Regions from separate parts of the Homo sapiens genome. Here regions 1, 3, 4, 5, 6 and 7 are each linked to region 2. Evidence: promoter capture Hi-C in 16 types of primary human blood cells and fetal thymus (Javierre and others, 2016). All regions are on one chromosome and are shown on one strand. The core of a region is centred on a gene start or on the middle of the fragment in contact, and the rest is flanking DNA. Distances in the headings are between cores, read along the strand shown.

Region 1 (2,700 bases), core at 201-2,700, 380 kb before region 2:
TATTCCACAAAACCACCACCGTCATCATGGCCCGTTCTCAATGAGCTGTTGGGTACACCTCCCAGACGGGGTGGTGGCCGGGCAGAGGGGCTCCTCACTTCCCAGAAGGGGCGGCCGGGCAGCGGTGCCCCCCACCTCCCGGACGGGGCAGCGGCCGGGCGGGGGCTGACCCCCCACCTCCCTCCCAGACGGGGCAGCTTGCCCGGCGGGGGCTGCCCCCCACCTCCCTCCTGGACGGGGCGGCTGCCGGGCAGAGAAGCTCCTCACTTCCCAGACGGGGCGGCTGCCGGGTGGAGGGGCTCCTCACTTCTCAGACGGGGCGGCTGCCGGGCGGAGGGGCTCCTCACTTCTCAGATGGGGCAGCTGCGGGGCGGAGGGGCTCCTCACTTCTCAGATGGGGCGGCCGGGCAGAGACGCTCCTCACCTCCCAGATGGGGTCGCGGCCAGGCAGAGGCGCTCCCCACATCTCAGACGATGGGCCCCCGGGCAGAGACGCTCCTCACTTCCTAGACGGGATGGCGGCCGGGAAGAGGCGCTCCTCACTTCCTAGATGGGATGGCGGCCGGGAAGAGGCGCTCCTCACTTCCCAGACTGGGCAGCCGGGCAGAGGGGCTCCTCACATCCCAGACAATGGGCGGCCAGGCGGAGACGCTCCTCACTTCCCAGGCGGGGTGGCGGCTGGGCAGAGGCTGCAATCTCGGCACTTTGGGAGGCCAAGGCAGGCGGCTGGGAGGTGGAGGTTGTAGCTAGCCGAGATCACGCCACTGCTCTCCAGCCTGGGCAACATTGAGCACTGAGTGAATGAGACTCCGTCTGCAATCCCGGCACCTCGGGAGGCCGAGGTTGGCAGATCACTCGTGGTTAGGAGCTGGAGACCAGCCTGGCCAACACAGCGAAACCCCGTCTCCACCAAAAAAATACGAAAACCAGTCAGGCGTGGCGGTGCGCACCTGCAATCGCAGGCTGAGGCAGGAGAATCAGGCAGGGAGGTTGCAGTGAGCCGAGATGGCAGCAGTACAGTCCAGCTTCGGCTCCGCATCAGAGGGAGACCGTGGAAAGACAGGGAAACGGAGACCGTGGGGAGAGGGAGAGGGAGAGGGAGAGCTCAGGTATCTTATACATTGTTTTCTTTCCTTCTCTTCTTTTGATCTTACCCACTTTTTTTTACAACTTAAAGCTTTTTTTTTTTTTTTTTTTTTTGAGACAGGGTCTCGCTCTCTCACCCAGGCTCAAGTGCAGTGACACAAACATGGCTCAAGCCCAGCTAATTTTTTTTTTTTTTTTGTAGAGACAGTGTTTTATTATGTTGCCCAGGCTAGTCTTGAACTCCTGGGCTCAGGCAATCTGCCCACCTTGGCCTTCGAAAGTGCTGGGATTACAGGTGTGAGTGACCAGACTGGTCCCAAAACTTTTTTAATGTTTAAATTTTACCACTATACTAAGGAGGAGTTACCCATCTTTTAATTGCCTTTTTTTCTTCTTATTAGGGAGGGGTAAGGAAGAAGACTTGGTCAGCAGAAAGCAGGTCTTAATTGCTTTTTTGTTTTGTTTTGTTGCTATTGAGTTGTTTGAGCTCTTTATATGTGTTGGATATTAACCCCTTATCAGATGTCTGGCTTGCAAATATTTTCTCCCATTCCATAGGTTATCTCTTTACTCTGTTGATTGTTTGCTGTGCAGAAGGTTTTTAGTTTGTTTGTTTTAGCTACACATCATGAACCAAGAAGCTTTTTACTTTGATATGATACCATTTGTCTATATTTAATTTTGTTGTCTGTGCTTTTGGGAACAAATCCAAAAAATCATTACCCAGACCAATGTCTTGTATGTTTCCCCTATGTTTTCTTTCTTTTTTTTTTTTTTTTTTAAAGGAGGCTGTCAGCTGATCCCCTATGTTTTCTTCTAGCAGTTTTAGGTTCTTGGTCTTAAAGGTCTCTTTTTTTTCTTTCTTTCCTTTTTTTTTTTTTTTTTTTTTTTTTGTTGGCAATTTTCCTGAGCAAACTAATGCAGGAATGTTTAAGTATGTAATCCATTTTGAACTAACTTTTGTATATGGTGTTGAAATAAGGGTCCAATTTTCTTTTTCTGCATGTGGAAATTCAGTTTTCCCTACACCATTTATTGAAAAAAGCGGTCTTTTTCTTCTTGGCATATTTGTTGAAAATCAGATTCATCTCTGGGCTTTCTATTCTGTTCCATTGGTTGATGTGTCTTTTTCTTTTTTGCCAATTCCATGCTGTTTTACACTTACTTGATCTTAGCCAAAAGGCAGAGAAGCGATTATTTCATACTATTTTAATTAGTATAGCTTTGTAGTATAGTTTAAAATCAGATAGTGTGATACCTCCAGTTTTTTCAACTTCAGAGAGCTCTGAAGCAAATATCTCCAGCTTTTTTTCTTTTTGCTCACGATTGCCTTGGCTTTTTTTTTTTTTTTTTTTTTGCAGTTTTGTATGAATTTTAATGTTTTTTGTTTTTTTTTGAGGCATGGTTTCATTCTCTTTCCCAGGCTGGAATGAATGTCACAATCATGGCTCACTGCAGCCTCAAACTCCTGAGCCCAAACAAGCAATCCTCCTACCTCAGCTCCTGGAGTAGCTGGTACCTCAGGCATGCATTGACAAACCTGGTAAAAAAATTTTTTTTTTTTTGGTAGAGGTGAACTCCTCGGCTCAAGCAGTTCTTCCACCTTGGCCTCCC
Region 2 (2,700 bases), core at 1-2,500:
GCTTCTCCAGCTTCACTTTCAGATAGGGAAGAAGAACCAGGAACATAATAGATTTCCAAAGCTGCTGCTTTGGGAGACCAGCACTAGCCAATCTCTGAGACTTGTGAGTGTCCCCCATTACAATTCTCTTTAAGCCGTAAAAGTTTTCAGAAAATGAGGCACTGGTTCTAGACAGATAATGTTGCTGGAGCAGAAGATCTAGCAGAGTAAAGATTTCATCAAACCACCTCCACAAGAAGCCATAGTGGGTGGGATTTGATTCTGCAAGAACCTAAAGCAAAATAAAGCAATAAGTGAAATTCATTCCATTACACAAGTTCTACACCTATTTACATTCCCCCTTTTCCTCTAAAGTCTACACAATTTGTTTTAAATAAGTCACTGTTGGACCCTGAAATGCTGGGTATTCAGTACAGGTCTCTACACATAACAGAGACTCAGTAACTCTTAAGTCATGGGATACAAGTTATTTGCAAATTGGCTATTTCAAACGCTAGGCTACCAAATAAGCACAAATTATTCGTTTGTTTTTTACCCAGTTGTCCCTAAAACCTTTCCAAGAATTAATACCTTACCTTGACCACATGCTGAAGAGCGGGTCTCACTGCTGTCATTAAACTGTCCTGTGCTACCACCTCAAAGATGGATGGCTGGTCATCGGCCACAGAAGCAGCTGTGAAGTGAGCCCCGTGCTCAGCCATAGTTTCCTGCGTGTACTGGCTTTCACTTTTCCCACAAACTCTCTCGTGAGCATGAACTTTTTCGGGAGGAAGAGTATCAGATGGGTGCTCAGTCTTAAAGGTAAACTTTCTGCATGATATCTGAAACTCGAAACTCAATCTTATGGGCAAAAATGAACTGGGAAAAAAAGACCTGGAGGCCGAGGGTAGTCTCAAGAAGGTTAAGAACAAAGTTAACTCGGACGTGGGTGGAAGTAGTATGTGGCGAGGGGGTAACTTGTCAAATGCTGCACGTCAGGGCAGAGCGTGACTGTGGGGGACAGGTATGGGGGAAGGAACGCAATCCTCTGGAGCTGCGAACCAGAAACGCCCCCTCCTCCCCAATCGTGAGAGCTCAAAAGCCAGCCGACTCTGAGGATTCAGTCGTGCCACTGTGAGCCCGGGACACAAGGGCTGACTCCAGCTGTTGGCTTTGAGTATCCCCGCCCGCGCCCGTCCTTGCTCGCTGACCCCAGGCGAGGCGCAAACAACCCACGACGCCACGTTTGAAGGGAGGTCTCCGCTTTATGACAGAAGCCGCACCCGGAAATGAAACCACCAGGACCTCTGGGATGCCTGGCGGAAGAGAGGCGCTCTAGTTCCGAATGCGGTCCGGAAACCAGAACTAGAGAACTCTATGACCCACCTGAGCTTCCGCTCCCGCCCCGCTGAAACAGAAGAGGGCCCTTGTGGGCTGGTTTTGGCTAGTTTGGTTTACTTTTCGTAGCTGGGTCTGCATGGTAGCCTCGCTGGAAAGCTACAGCTCTGAACCTCTCTCTGCGAGGTCTTTTTGACAAGCTGTTTGGGGCACCGCGCAGACGTCTGGCGCCGGGAGCCAGAGCTCGGGCCCGTTGCTGAGCCCTGTGTTCCTGCAGGCGATGAAGCTAGGGGCGGTGGGAGGAAGGGAATCTGGAGGTGGAAAGGACTTTGCTGTACGCGTGCGGCAGGGATGGTGGTTAATTTATATGTCTTAGCCTTCCAGAAATGATTTAAAGCGACATAGCAGGAGATAGGAGCCTTAGATTTATTGCCGCCAATTATAAGGAAAGATGATTGGATTGAGAAAGGTTCATGCTTGTTCCTCAGTACTTGAGACGGTTAATTTTCATCCAAGCTGGTAGTTTAACGTCTTCCAGGTTTTGGCTATATTCAAGCATAACTGCATGCACTTGCTATACTGGATGAAAATGGTCTCCATCCTTGAACACAGTTGTATATGTCACCACCAGCGATATGAATACAGTACTAACGCAGAGGGAGCTTTATGAATTGTAACTAGCATGCACTGGGGACACTTGACAGAAAGTTTCCTTTCATGCCGTTTTTATACCAAAATGAATGTGATTTACCTTAAGGTTTGTAAAGTGCTTTTATGTTATGTACAGCTTTGTCTCGCTGAAGTTGGCTGACACAGCCTTATTGAATTTGGATGAGAGTTCCACCTCTCCTCCCTTCCTCTGGGAAGTGCCACCTCTGGGCTAAATAGCTGGGAATAGAAGGTATTGTTTACTGCCCTAGAGGCCCTTATGTTATAAAAATAATTGGTTTGCATAATGAGAACCCTCAAAAACAAGGTTTGGATTTAGTTATTCCAATAGGAGAGAAAACCTTACAAATTGTCCTTAATTATAGTTATAAAAAGTGTTTTTTACTCTACCAAAAGACATTATATTGATATATGATTTTTACCTTACAGAGTTTTAAGACTAGACATAGTTTATCCATATGAAGCACCTGGATACATATTAGGTGCTTGTTTAATAGTAACTGTTATGTACAAGCTTTTCTTAAGTGAATAGCAAAAATACAAAGTTGAGAGGTAGCATCAACTAAATCAAGCAGGAAATTAAACATTTTTGTCACTTAGGGATCTTTGGTTACAAGCAACAGAAACAAACAGGCTAATTTAAACTAAAACGGAATTTATTAGAAGTGTATGGAGTAGCTCACAAAATAAGTAAAGCCAGCCCTGAAAGAACAG
Region 3 (2,700 bases), core at 117-2,616, 350 kb before region 2:
CTATTTTCAGTAGCTTCAAGAGGCTATCAAGTACATAATAATCTAACATAAGAAAGCTCAAAACCCTCCCAGAAAAAAAGGAAGGAAATCTAGCCAAAATTTTATTTTCTTCTTATTATTTTTTGAGATGGGGTCTTACTCTGTCACCCAGGCTGGAGTGCAGTGGCATGATCACAGCTCACTGCAGTCTCGACCTCCCAGGCTCAAGCGATCCTCCCACTTCAGCCTCCTGAGTAGCTGAGACTACAAGTGCCCCACCAAGGCCAGCTAATTTTTGTATTTTTAATAGATATGAGGTTTTGCCATGTCTGGTGCCATGGCTGGTCTCAAAATCCTTAGCTCAAATGATCTGCCCGCTTCAGTCTCCCAAAGTGCTGCTGGGATTACCAGCATGAGCCGCCATGCCCAGCCAAAAATATAGGCAAAACTTTAAATGTATGAACCCTTTAAGAAAAGTCGTTCAGGTTGGAAGAAAATGAAAATAAAATTATAGGCTTAACATTAACCAGATTTTCAAAAGAGTTGAGATTTACATTATTCTGCAGAGGACTGAATCTTAGAGTGGTTTTCTTTTAGAGAAAGTTGCCTTCTGGTGTATGTGTGGGGGTGGTGGTGATATAAGTAGCCTTTATTAAAGGGAGAATGGTACACTCTATGTTATAGGATGAATTGTGTTTCCCCAAAATTTGTATGTTGAATCCCTAACCCTCACTACCTCAAAATGTGAATACATTTAGAGATGGAACCTTTAAAGAGGTAATTAAAGCTAACTAAGGTCATAAGAGTGGGGCCCTAATTCAATACAATCAGTATTCTCCTAAGAAGAGGAAGAGACACCAGGGAAGCACATGTATATGAAGTGGAGATCATGTGAGGGCACAGTGAGAAAGCAGCAACTGCAAGCCAAAAAGAGAGGCCTCAGAAGAAACAACATCTGCTGACACCTTGATCTTGGACTTCCAGCCTCTAGAACTGTGAGAAAATGAATTCGTGTTGTTTAAGCCACCAGGTCTTATATTTTGTTATGGCAGCCCTAGCAAACTAATTCTGCAAGAATTTTAAAATGTATAACTATATGAACAAAACTAAGCAATCAATAAAAGTGTAAACAGCCTTCCATCTTCCTACTATAAATCACTTTGGAAGATAAAAGGGAAACTTTTAATTTGGGTGGAATGACCTTGGTGTCCTTGATGAGTTTCAAGATAAAGAAGAAGGCTATTGTATTAATCTGTTTTCACATTGCTATAAAGAACTACCTAAGACTAGGTAATTTATAAAGAAAAGAGGTTGAATTGGCTCATGGTACCACAGGCTGCACAGGAAGCATGGCTGGGGAGACCTCAGGAAACTTACAATCATGGCAGAAGGTGTAAGGGAAGCCAGCACATCCTACATGGCTGGAGCAGGATGAATAGAGGGAAGGGGGAGGTGCTACACATTTTTAAACAACTAGATCTCAGGACAACTCACCCATTATAATGAGAACAGCATGGGGGAAATCCACCCCCTTGATCTAATCACCTCCCACGATGTCCGTTCTCCGACACTAGGGATTACAATTTGACATGAGGTTTGTGTGGGGACACAGTCCCAAACCATATTAGTTATGCAAGCCCTTTTGCACTAAGACTTTCAATCAAGATTCTGAGCGTTGTTTAAGATTTTAAAAAAACATTTTAAGTTCATGGGTATAAGTGCAGGTTTGTTACATAGGTAAACTTGTGTCATGGGGGTTTGTTGTACAGATTATTTCATCACCCAGGTATTAAGCCTAGTACCCATTAGTTATTTTTCTTGATCCTCTCCTTCCTCCTACCCTCCCACCCTCCAAAAGGCCCCAGTGTGTGTTCCACTCTATGTTCCACTCCCCAGTTGTTCCACTCCCCAGTTGTTCCACTCTATGTGTCCATGTGTTCTCATCATTTAGCTCCCACTTGTAAGTGAGAACATGTGGTATTTGGTTTTCTATTCCTGTGTTAGTTTCCTAAGGATAATGGCCTCCAGCTCCATCCATGTCCCTGCAAAGGACATGATCTCATTCATTGTTATGGCTGCATAGTATTCCATGATATGTACCACATTTTCTTTATCCAGTCTGTTACTGATGAGCATTTAGGTTGATTCCATGTCTACGCTATTGTGAGTGGTGCTGCAATGAACATACGTGTGTGTGTCTGTATAATAGAATGATCTACATTCCTTTGGGTATATATCCAGTAATAGGATTGCTGGGTTGAATGGTATTTCTGTTTTTATGTCTTTGAGGAATCACCACACTGTCTTCCACAATGGCTGAATTTACACTACCACCAACTGTATAAGTGTTCCTTTTTCTCCACAACCTCACCAGCATCTGTTATTTTTTGACTTTTTAATAATGGCCATTCTGACTGGTGTTAGATGATAGCTCATTGTGGTTTTGATTTGCATTTCTCTAATGATCAGTGATGTAGAGCTTTTTTCATATGATTGTTGGCTGAATGTATGTCTTCAGAATGTTTTAAACATTTTTTATTTTTGATAATTTCAAACTTATGGAAAAGTCGTAAGAATACTACAAAAAACTCCTATTCATTCTCCCCACAAAACATTATATATATTTGTTTTACCATTCTCACTTTCTTTCTCACTCTGCCTGCCTGTCTGTCTATCTATCTATCTATCTATCTAGAATTTTTGGGGAACCGTTTGAAAGTA
Region 4 (2,700 bases), core at 100-2,599, 450 kb before region 2:
GGCTGGAGTGCAGTGGTGTGATCTCGGCTCACTGCAACTTCTGCCCCCTGGGTTCAAGCAATTCTCCTGCCTCAGCCTACCAAGTAGCTAGGATTACAGGTGCCAACCACCGCACTCAGCCAATTTTTGTGTTTTTAGTGGAGACAGGGTTTCACCATGTTGGCCAGGCTGGTCTGTAACTCCTGACCTTGAATCTGCCTGCCTCGGCCTCCCAAAGTGCTGGGATTATAGGCGTGAGCCACTGCGCCCAGCCAGGATCTTATTAAAGATGCGGATTCTCTAGTCCCATGCTAACTGGGGACCAGGGACTAAAAGTCTGCATTTTTAGTAAGTGCCCTGGTGAGTCTAATGCAATGCTATAGAGCAATGAGGCTGTTCCAAGCTGTTTGCAAATGGCTGGGGATGCTGGTAAGTCAGGCCCAAGGCCTGCCCTCAGGTGGAACGGGCTGGGGTGGCCTCCTTCATCTGATTCACCTGTCTCCCCTTTTGCTCCAGGAAGCCGCTGCCAGTAGAGGATTCAGACTGCAGCTCTGATGAGACCAGCATCTCTGCCTTCTCATCCACCTTGCTGAACCCCATCAAATTAGCTGTGACCCAGCCCAACAGCAGCTTCTTTGCAGGGATGCTGGAGGGGGAGCTGAACAAACTCAGCTTCTCCCCAATGGCCAAGAATGCAGAAAATGAGGACCTGGCGCTCGGCCCCTGCCCATGCCCATCGAAGTCCCAGATGGCCACAAGGGGCCTGCTGGACCTTGACAACCCTGAGCTGGAGACAGAAACCTCCTCAACGCACTCAGAATCTTCTGTGGTTGTGGACCTGCCGGACACCCCCTTCATCTTTGAGCACACCGTCAACAATTCCACAGCTGTGGTGCGTTTCCCTTGCTCATGCGTTCAGCAGAGGCTTATTGTGCCAGGCACTGAGCTGAGCTCCATGGGTAGTGAGAAGGTGCCTGCCACCTGCATGTCGACCTCAAGTTCACGGTTTAGGAAGGGAGAGGATGTGTCTGTAAAAACTCCAGTGCAAGACAGAAAGGGTTCAGTGCTGTAGGAAAAGTTCAGAGCAAGTGCCACCAGGAATTCAGAGGGAAAGATATTTCCAGATGCGGGAATAAGCTTGGTGGCTTTTGGTAACATCTGAGCTGGGATGTAGAGGTAGCATGTAAACATCTAGAGGTGGAGGAGGGAGGCATTCCCTGGAGGGGCGGACCCTAGCAAAAGCTCACAGGAAAGTGAGGGAGGAAATCTCAATTTGAACAAGATGGTAGGTGATCTGTAGGAACATGAAAGCGTGAGAAGCCCTGGATGAGGACCTGGGATCGAGTGAGGCTACTCAGAATTGCTGGGCCTCCTCCCTAGAGGGTCTAGGGTGAAGCCTGATAATTTGCATTAGTAACAGATTCCCAGAGGATGCTGTGGCTCCCCGTCCGCGGGCTACACGTCGAACAACACCGTCCTACACTATGGGAAGTGAAGACAGGGGACAGGATGGGGAATGTTAGTCTGGGATCATCTTCCAGAGTCCTCCAGTGTTAGACTACTTTATAGACTTTTCTGTAAGTAATAGGGAACAGCTTTGTAAAAAGCTTCACATCAGATGATGAAAGCAATTCGAGCTGTATCTTGGGAGGATGCCTGGAATTCCACTGTTGGATGGCCCAGAGCAGTGTTTCTCAAAGTGCTCTCCAGATGGACAATGTCAGCATCACTCAGCAAATTGTTACAAATTTAAATTCTCATCTCCCTCCACCACATTTGGGCCTCCTGAGTCAGAAACTGTTGGGGCGGAGCCCAGTAATCTATCTTTTAATAAGTCCTCCAGGGTATTCTAATGCACACCAAGTTTGACAAACACTGGCCTAGATGGAGGAGAAACCAGACAGGAGGCAGCAGGCCCAGAAATCTGCAGTTACAAAATCTCCCTGAGATGCTTAGCCAGGCTTGGCAACCATTGTAGTACAAAGTGTATGGGCTCTGGAGCTATGGGTTTGAACACTGGCTGTCACTTAATTGCCGTATGATGATGGACCAGTCACTTGCCCTCTCTGGACCTAGTCGATAAGATGATCTCTAAGGTCCCTCTCAGCTAACAGAGTCTAGACAGAGTCTAGAACCAACCTTTTTGGCACCAGGGACTGGTTTCATGGAAGATAATTTTTCCATGGATCCGGTTGGGGGGATGGTTTCAGGATGAGTCAAGCATATTACATTTATTGTGTACTTTATTTCTATTATTATTACATTGTAATATATAATGAAATAATTATACAACTCACCATAATGTAGAAACTGTGGGAGCCCTGAGCTTGTTTTCCTGCAACGAGAGGGTCCCATTTGGGGGTGATGGGAGACAATGACAGATCATCAGGCATTAGATTCTCATAAGGAGCATTCAACTTAGATCCCTCCCATACAATTCACAATAGGGTTCACGTGCCTATGGGAATCTAATGCCTCTGCTGATCTGACAGGAGGCAGAGCTCAGGTGGTACCCTGAGCCGTGGGGAGCAGCTGTAAATACAGATGAAGCTTCGCTTGCTCGCCCACCAATCTCCTCCTGCTGTGCTATCCAGTTCCTAACAGGCCATGGACTGCTATCAGTTGGTGGCCCAAGGGTTGAGGACCCCTGGCGTATAAGAAATATGGAATGAGGGTGTACCCTAAAGTGGGTGGGGCTGCCCAGGAGAGTAGTACATGCTT
Region 5 (2,700 bases), core at 201-2,700, 470 kb before region 2:
AGCCACCGCTCCTAGTCTCAGATTCTTAACCCCTAGAAACTGTGAGATAAGAAATACTATGTCTTAAGCCACTAAGGTTTTGGTAACTTATTATGCAATAATAGAAGATATATCATCTAATGGTCCTACAGTAAAAAATACAGTCTTCTGATCTGGAATTGAGAGGTTTGGGCTATAAGGTTAGTTCTTGCCCTAAATATTTGGTCAACTTTGGTCAACTCACTTCACTTCTCCGGCCTTCACTCTTCTCATCTCTAAAAGTGAGGTAAGCACTACTCAGCTTCATGTCTCAACAAGCTGGTGGGTCATAACCAGCTATGACTTCTGAGGTAAGTATTTGTTCAACATTTTTTTTTAAAGACGGGGTCTAGCTCTGCTGACCAGGCTAAGGTACAGTGGTATGATCATAGCTCACTGCAACCTCCAACTGCTAGGCTCAAGCAATCCTCCCGTCTCAGCCTCTGGAGTCATTAGGATTACAGGTGTGGGCCACCACTCCCAGCTTGTTCAACTATTATATGTTCTAAAGTTTGTAAAAATCATTGACTTTATATATAGTCGTGGGGATGCCCGTGTGAACACGTCATGCTTTGGGGTGAGAGGAAAAGTTTGAGATAAACTATTCTATCTTTAAGGTATCCTCCACATCTAGTCATTTATAAATCAGTGCACCAAATCCTGTCTAAGCACCCAACATGAGTAGCAAAGTGCCAACCCAAATGCCATTCTAAATCCTTCCCATTAACATGACTCTGAATGTGTTCAGCGACTGGGCAGAAATCTGACTTCAGGGATGGTGGGCCCAGGTCTTAGTCCAAGATACACACATAACCCCATTTTGGCCAACTAGATGTAAGGGGAAGAGGGACGTCTATTAGTGGGCTCTGGAGAAAGATTCTTCATCCCTGATAAAAGGGAGGAGGTACAGAAAAGAACCATCTATCTTTTACTGCCTTGAATATGGATGTGGATGTGTGAAGACAAGATGCTTGGAGCTTTGGCAGCCTCTTTGCAACCATGAGGGGAAGAACAAGAAAATCAGACACACAAATCTATTGCCCTGATAGCATGGACCTGCCAACCTCCCAACTCATGTGACATAATTAAATGTCCTCAAGCTTCAAGTCTCTGTCAGACAACCTCTATTACTTGCAGCTAAAAGTATTCCTCACTCACCTAGTGGGGAATGCAGACATAAATATGACATGATCCTTCCACTCAGGGGGCTTTACTGTTCAGCAGGGAAGATGAACATGTAAACAATGAGGTATGTGATTTAGGTGCTCGGGAATTCCATCCTGGGAGTAGCAAGCATAGTTGGAGTCACCAGATTGCACATCTGCATTTCCAAACAGTCTGTAGTAGGACACCTGCCCACAGAGATAGCACCTAGAAAGCTGAATTAAGCAAGGAGGGGCAGAACAGCAGGCTCACCTGCTGGGCCACAGTGCCTCGGAGCTCCTGCAGCACATCCAGCATCTGGAAGATGTCAAATGCATGCACCACCTGGATCCTCCGGAGAGCTTCTGCCTGAAGCGGTGGAAAAGAAAAGCAAGGACTTTGGATAAGAGGGAGTAGGGGGGTCAAGGTAAGGCTGAGAAGGAAGAGGCACCTGGATGCAAGGACTCAGGTCCAGGGTGGCAAATGAGCTTTGTCTAATGGTCAGTTGTCACAGTGGTGGCTGCCTGGGTGCTGAGCTGTAAAGTACTCAGAACTCAGCAGGAAAGAGGGATATGACTGATTAGTGATGTCTCTCACAGGTGAGAAATGGACTGGAAACACAAAGCTTGGTGTTTGCCAGCCCTGGTTTAGGGCATGCAAAGAGTTGGGAGGGTTTCCTGGAAGAATCAGTGTGAGTAGCATCCCAAATGGGATGATGGCATCAACAGGGGTGGCTTAAGGAATACGAGATGTATTAATAGAACAGCAAGTTTGAAGGCAAGGAATGACTATTCAACCCAAATTCTTACAATGTTAAGGGATAATGGGGTTTTCCTGTGTCAGAATCTCAATGGAACCCAGCATCCTGCCCTTACCTGTTCCTCCTCATCCTGGGTTTTAGCCTGAAGCAGCTGGAGGAGGCGGGAAGCTGTCAGCCCTCCATTGGAATCTACATATAGGACGTTTTGCTGCAGGCCATGGGCCACATTTGCTGCCATACAGAGACATACCTGGGGGTGGGGGCATTGGATGAACTTGACACTTCAGAGAGGGTCCAGATGGGAGCTCCCCACCAAACCTTGCCCAGATTCCAGCAACACAAATGGGCTGAGTCCCGACCCCATTCCTTATTACCCATCTTCTCTCTGTTGGGCTCTGAACCCATTAGTACGCTGAAGCTCCCCCAGGGACCCTGGGCTATGCATCTACCACCCTCACCCCTAAATCCTCCTGACTGCTGGCCTCACATGTACCTGAGTTTTGCCGCTACCTGGGCCTCCTACAATTTCAGTCACTTCTCCAGTATAGAGACCAGCATCAAGCAGTTTATCAAGACTGATGGCAGAAGAGAAGAAAATCAACACAAGAGGTTAGGAGGAAGACAGGGGAAAAGGTACCAAGAAGAAAAGTAAGACATTTCTTTCAAGCACTGGTTCTGTCTTTGAACATCACTGGCCAGGAGGCTTCTCCTGGTGTTTTCTTCTGGTAAGGAGGGAATGCCCAAATGTGCCTTCTCTGGTCTCTCTTCATCCCTCCACT
Region 6 (2,700 bases), core at 157-2,656, 310 kb before region 2:
CAAAAAAGAACTTAAACAGATAAAAAGCAGACCACGTTTTTGGATAAGAAGATTAAAAATTATAAATATATCAATTTTCACTGTTAATCTATAAATTCAGTGTAATCCCAATAAAAATGCCAACAGGTTTTCCCCAATAGCATTGAAATGATTTTAAAATTTAATGAAGGCCAAGCATGGTGGCTCACTCCTGTAATCCCAGCACTTTGAGAGGCCGAGGCAGGTGGATTGCCTGAGTCCAGGAGTTCCAGACCAGCCTGGACAACATGGTGAAATCCCGTCTCTATTTAAAATGCAAGAAATTAGCTGGGTGTGGTGGTGTGCACCTATAGTCCTAGCTACTCGGGAGGCTGAGGTGGGAGAATCACCCAAGCCTTGGGAGGTCGAGGCTGTAGTGAGCCAAAATCACATCACTGCACTCCAGTCTGGGCAGCCAGAGTGAGACCCTGTCTCAAAAAAAAAAAAATTATTGGAAACTACGAGGCAAGAATATCCAAGAAAAATCTAGAAAAGAAGAAACCTGAGTGAGTCAGCATGACCAAATATTAAAACATCTTATAAAGCTACAATAATTAAAACAATGTGGTGCTGATATGTGGAGGGTCAATGGAACAAGATGAAATGGCCAAAAATAAATTTAAAATACATGTTGAAATGTATTAACAGCATATGTTAAAGTTAAGTTATGTTAACTTTATATGTTAAATTCAAGTTAATTGGGGAAAGATGGATTATTCAATATATGATGAACAACTCTGTCACCCAGCTAAAAAAAATTAAGCTTGGGCCATATGCCAGACTAGATACCAAAATAAATTCCAGGAGGACCAAGTTTTTAAAAGTAAAAATATGGAATCATGGAAGTGCATGAAGAAGAAGTAGCACTTAAAAAAATAATAATCTCAGCATGGGGAAGGTCTAAGTATGGCCCTCAATCAGAAACCAGGAAGGAAAATATTGACTATTTTAAACAAAATTATCTCTGTACCAAAAACAGCATAAAAGGTCAAGAAACAACACACTGGAAAAAGAATTGCAATGAATATCACAGCCAAATAGTTAATTTCTTATTTTCAAAAAATAGCTTCTACAAATCGAAGAGAAAAATTCTAAGGTCTCAAAGGAAAAATGAGCAAAGGATTTGACAGGTGGTAGAATACAGAAAAAGAATTTAAAATAGCTCCTAAAGATATGGAAACATTACTCATGATAGCAGAAGTATCAATTGACAAAATTACTCAGATTGGTAACAAACTTTAAGGGGGAAAGCACTTCCATGCATTGCTGTAAATTGGTACATCTTCTACTGAGAACAATCCGGCAGTAGTTAACAAAATTGTGAATGCATATATCTCTTTCTCTAGAAATTTCTCTTTTGGGAATTTATTCTACATATATATTCAAACGTGTGAAATACTTCTATACAGGTGATTGAATTTCACTTTATTCCTAAGAGCAGAAGACTGCAAAATAGTAAATATATACCCAAAAGGGTCTAATGGATTAGTTTTTGGCATATCAGCACATGATAATACTATGAAGCCATAAAAAAGAGAGATCTCTATATGTATTGATGGGGGACCATCTTTAAGATATACTGTGGTGTTGAACAAAACAACATGCTGAAAATGTCTCTTATTCTTTTAGAATCAATATAAGTCTGTGCTTGTAAATGCAGTAAGTATCTTTGGAAGTATACCTAAAAATTGGTAATAGTGTTTGACTCCAGGGAAGAACAGATGGGTGCCAGAGTGAAAAAAAGATAGCTTTTGCTTTTTATGACTTTTGGATTCTGTACCACGTAATAATTTTGATGTAAATTTTGCTGTGTGTGTTTTTACTTGTTCATGTAGTGATTTTATAAATTACTCTTTTAATTTTCTATCAATGAATATCCTGGGATAAACCCCTCATGATCATAATGAATAATGATGTGTGGAGAGTGGGGAGGGTTTACATATGAAAAATGTAGAAAATACAAAAAGTGTCTATATATACAAAAATGTAAGTGTTAACATTTTTATATTTGCTTCAAGCTTTTTTTTTAAATAAAAGAAATGCAATATTGCAATTAAATTTGTGTTCTTCTTTCTTCTGTTTCACATCCAATTTATCTCCCCTTCCTCCAGAGGCAGTAACTATCATGGCTTTTGTGGGTATCCTTCAGGCTGTTAGTTTTACACACACACACACACACACACACATCAGATCACACTATCACTAGTGGTGGCATAAGATGAAGTGAAGGTAGAGGACAAGGTACTGGGAATTCCAGTTTATGAATTTAGTTTCGAAAGGGATTTAGTTTCCATGGCAACAATAGTCATTATAAAGATTGTAAATTGGCATTTTCGATAGCTCTAGGAAGTTTAGACAACGAAAAAATTGAGATTGAAAGAAAAACTATCCAGCTGAGAATATCCATAGAAAACTGGAATGCCTTGATGACAGTTTTGGACAAGTCCCTCATCCTCTATAGATGCAGGGCAGATATGACTGAGCACCAAGCCAAGGACCTAATTGTAACGGATGGTGAGTTCAATGCCAATGAAATCTGCAACCACATCACATCTCTTTCAGTAAGGGAAAAGCACTGGTATGGAAGCAGTGGGACCTTGAGACACGGCATAAGGATATTTGGGCAGATACTGAGAACTCTGGAGCCCCAAATACCTTTCAGACAGGCAGCTACATTGTGCC
Region 7 (2,700 bases), core at 21-2,520, 400 kb before region 2:
CTTTCTACATATGGCTAGCTAGTTTTCCCAGCACTATTTATTAAATAGGGAATCCTTTCATCATTTCTTGTTTTTGTCAGGTTTGTCAAAGATCAGATGGTTGTAGATGTGTGGTGTTATTTCTGAGGCCTCTGTTCTGTTCCATTGGTCTATATATCTGTTTTGGTACCAGTACCATGCTGTTTTGGTTACTGTAGCCTTGTAGTATAGTTTGAAGTCAGGTAGCGTGATACCTGACCCTGATGATGCCTCCAGCTTTGTTCTTTTTGCTTAGGGTTGTCTTGGCTATGCCTGCTCTTTCTTGGTTCCATATGAACTTTAAAGTAGTTTTTTCCAATTCTGTGAAGAAAGTCATTGGTAGCTTCATGGGAATGGCATTGAATCCATAAACTATCTTGGGCAGTATGGCCATTTTCATGATATTGATTCTTCCAATCCATGAGCATGGAATGTTCTTCCATTTGTTTGTGTCCTCTTTTATTTTGTTGAGCAGTGGTTTGTAGTTCTCCTTGAAGAGGTCCTTCACATCCCTTGTAAATTGGATTCCTAGGTATTTTATTCTGTTGGTAGCAGTTGTGAATGGGAGTTCACTCATGATTTGGCTCTCAAGGATCTAGAACTAGAAATAACATTTGACCCAGCAATCCCATTGCTGGGTATATACCCAAAGGACTATAAATCATGCTACTATAAAGACACATGCACACGTATGTTTATTGTGGCACTATTCACAATAGCAAAGACTTGGAACCAACCCAAATGTCCATCAATGATAGATTGGATTAAGAAAATGTGACACATATGCACCATGGAATACTATGCAGCCATAAAAAAGGATGAGTTCATGTCCTTTGCAGGGACATAGATGAAACTGGAAACCATCATTCTGAGCAAACTACCACAAGGACAGAAAACCAAACACCGCATGTTCTCACTCGTAGGTGGGAGTTGAACAATGAGAACACATGGACACAGGGCGGGGAACATCACACACCGGGGCCTGTTGGGGGTGGGGAGCTGGGGGAGGGATAACATTAGGAGAAATACCCTAATGTAAATGACGAGTTGATGGGCGCAGCAAGCCAACATGGCACGCACATGTATACCTATGTAACAAACCTGCACGTTGTGCACATGTACCCTAGAACTTAAAGTATTAAAAAAAAAAAGATATCCAGGTGGATAGTGGGATAAAATGTATTCCTCTTTGGAAGCAGGAGTATGTCAGCATGTACTGGGTTGGGATTCTTTTGGTTGCCAGTAGCAGAAAACTTAACTATAATAGGCCTAAGCATAAAGGAAATTTATTGGCTCATGTAGATAAAAAGTCTGGGGTAACAAGATTCAGGTGTGGCTTGATGCAGGGCTTACAAAGCTGCCTTAGGTTCCTGTTCTCTCTGTCTCTCCTCTCCTTTCTGTATTGCTTTAATTCTCAATGGGCTTTTCTGCTCTCTCATGGTTATAAGGGCAGTTCTGGCCTTCACATCTTCTTGGATCTACATCCAGGATGAGAGAGAGAGAGAGAGAGAGAGAGAGAGAGAGAGAATTTCTTTACTGCAATAATACAGAGGCTCTCCAGTTGGGTGATATCCAGAACCCACTGCTGTGGCCAGGATGCCATGCTATACAATTTAGTTGAGGCCCATGGTGCCCCTCCTAGAGCTGGGGGCAGTGTGATGCCACATAAACCATGCTGGCTGAGGATGTGGGAAGGACAGCACCAGAATGGAAGAATGGTCCCTGGGTGGCCAGAAAACCCCTATGGTCACGGCAGAAGACTCAAGGGTCTTTCTTCCTCCACCCTCCTACCCTAGGCAGAAGATCTTTAAGGAGAGGGCCTTGCCAGACATCGAGAACTACATGTTTGAGAATCATGATCAGCTGCGGCAGGCGGCCACCGAGTGCATGTGCAACATGGTGCTCCACAAGGAGGTGAGGCAGGGGCTCAGGATGGAGACCCGGGCGTGATCAAGGCACGAGAGGCAGGCCAGGGTCAGGGCCTGGGGTGAGATCGGGAGCTCTTATGATGGCATTAAGGTAGCATTTTGGGCAGAAAATCCAGGAATCCCTAAATATTTCCTAGATTATAGCCCCCCTCCCTGTAGGGGCCCTGAGAGAAAGATATGCATAAAGGAAAAAATACAAAGCTGGGGCTTTCAATCCAGACCCTGGGCTAGATGAGGTGGAAGGCACCATTTCCCTAAGTTACTTAGGCCCAAATAACCTTAAAACAAAGCAGGATATGAGACCAGGGCCTCTCAGAGGTCAAGGAAGGCTAGACCACTTGCATTTATTGAAGCTCCACATATATAAAAAAAATGAAGAAATGCCAAATACAGTTATCAGCCATTTTAGGATGTCTCAAATGTCAGCATTTAATGAACTACCACTGTTCCCATAGAAATTGCAATGCAATATAACTGTACTCAGCACAGAATAATTACAGGGTTTATAAAAATAAAATGAATTCAGAACATGCCGTAGGCTTCATGGTCCAGTCATGGGACAAATGATACCCATCTGGTGAATGTCTTCTTCTCCCCATCCTGTCAGAGTACTGCTGTGACTGTATGTGTAATCTTATCAGAGATAACAGCAGGGTCTAAGTTTGAGGCCCTTCATTAACATGAGGGCCAAGCCGAATGTCCCTCCTGGGCCCTCACATAGGGGCTAGCGTGAGACCCAGTCTGTTTACCCTCA

Evidence for each region. The method cuts DNA at HindIII sites, captures the fragments that hold promoters and counts their contacts. A CHiCAGO score of 5 or more calls a contact.
Region 1: a fragment that was not itself captured here is called in contact with the fragment with the promoter of PEX12 in region 2 in 1 of 17 cell types (total CD8 T cells); the score reaches 5.5 in total CD8 T cells.
Region 3: a fragment that was not itself captured here is called in contact with the fragment with the promoter of PEX12 in region 2 in 5 of 17 cell types (naive CD4 T cells, activated CD4 T cells, total CD8 T cells and 2 more); the score reaches 11.5 in naive CD4 T cells.
Region 4: a contact is called between a fragment that was not itself captured here and the fragment with the promoter of PEX12 in region 2, in 6 of 17 cell types (naive CD4 T cells, total CD8 T cells, activated CD4 T cells and 3 more). The highest score is 11.9, in naive CD4 T cells.
Region 5: a contact is called between a fragment that was not itself captured here and the fragment with the promoter of PEX12 in region 2, in 1 of 17 cell types (naive CD4 T cells). The highest score is 5.3, in naive CD4 T cells.
Region 6: a contact is called between a fragment that was not itself captured here and the fragment with the promoter of PEX12 in region 2, in 7 of 17 cell types (naive CD4 T cells, total CD8 T cells, non-activated CD4 T cells and 4 more). The highest score is 11.6, in naive CD4 T cells.
Region 7: a contact is called between a fragment that was not itself captured here and the fragment with the promoter of PEX12 in region 2, in 11 of 17 cell types (naive CD4 T cells, activated CD4 T cells, total CD4 T cells and 8 more). The highest score is 18.0, in naive CD4 T cells.

What each region holds. Positions count from the first base shown.
Region 1 is chr17:35,194,939-35,197,638 of GRCh38, forward strand. No RefSeq gene overlaps it. Among named protein-coding and RNA genes, the nearest start is that of SLC35G3, 1.9 kb to the left of the region's middle. The HindIII fragment of the contact is 550 bases long and covers 1,176-1,725 here.
Region 2 is chr17:35,577,321-35,580,020 of GRCh38, forward strand. PEX12 (peroxisomal biogenesis factor 12) reads right to left here and starts at 1,251. Exons shown (of 3, transcript NM_000286.3): 1 at 576-1,251; 2 at 1-271. The coding sequence starts at 701. RefSeq lists an enhancer at 515-1,330. The HindIII fragment of the contact is 3,440 bases long and covers 1-2,498 here.
Region 3 is chr17:35,228,950-35,231,649 of GRCh38, forward strand. No RefSeq gene overlaps it. Among named protein-coding and RNA genes, the nearest start is that of SLFN5, 13 kb to the right of the region's middle. The HindIII fragment of the contact is 3,355 bases long and covers 1-2,700 here.
Region 4 is chr17:35,126,547-35,129,246 of GRCh38, forward strand. It overlaps FNDC8 (fibronectin type III domain containing 8), which reads left to right. Exons shown (of 4, transcript NM_017559.4): 2 at 496-871. NLE1 (notchless homolog 1) reads right to left here. Exons shown (of 13, transcript NM_018096.5): 13 at 2,184-2,700. Among named protein-coding and RNA genes, the nearest start is that of FNDC8, 6.3 kb to the left of the region's middle. The HindIII fragment of the contact is 470 bases long and covers 1,115-1,584 here.
Region 5 is chr17:35,104,952-35,107,651 of GRCh38, forward strand. RAD51D (RAD51 paralog D) reads right to left here. Exons shown (of 10, transcript NM_002878.4): 4 at 2,415-2,496; 5 at 2,037-2,171; 6 at 1,435-1,530. RAD51L3-RFFL (RAD51L3-RFFL readthrough) reads right to left here. Exons shown (of 7, transcript NR_037714.1): 2 at 1,435-1,530. Among named protein-coding and RNA genes, the nearest start is that of RAD51D, 14 kb to the right of the region's middle. The HindIII fragment of the contact is 668 bases long and covers 1,117-1,784 here.
Region 6 is chr17:35,271,580-35,274,279 of GRCh38, forward strand. SLFN5 (schlafen family member 5) reads left to right here. Exons shown (of 5, transcript NM_144975.4): 5 at 1-2,076. Among named protein-coding and RNA genes, the nearest start is that of SLFN5, 30 kb to the left of the region's middle. The HindIII fragment of the contact is 1,255 bases long and covers 780-2,034 here.
Region 7 is chr17:35,178,745-35,181,444 of GRCh38, forward strand. UNC45B (unc-45 myosin chaperone B) reads left to right here. Exons shown (of 20, transcript NM_001267052.2): 18 at 1,815-1,932. Among named protein-coding and RNA genes, the nearest start is that of SLC35G3, 14 kb to the right of the region's middle. The HindIII fragment of the contact is 8,641 bases long and covers 1-2,700 here.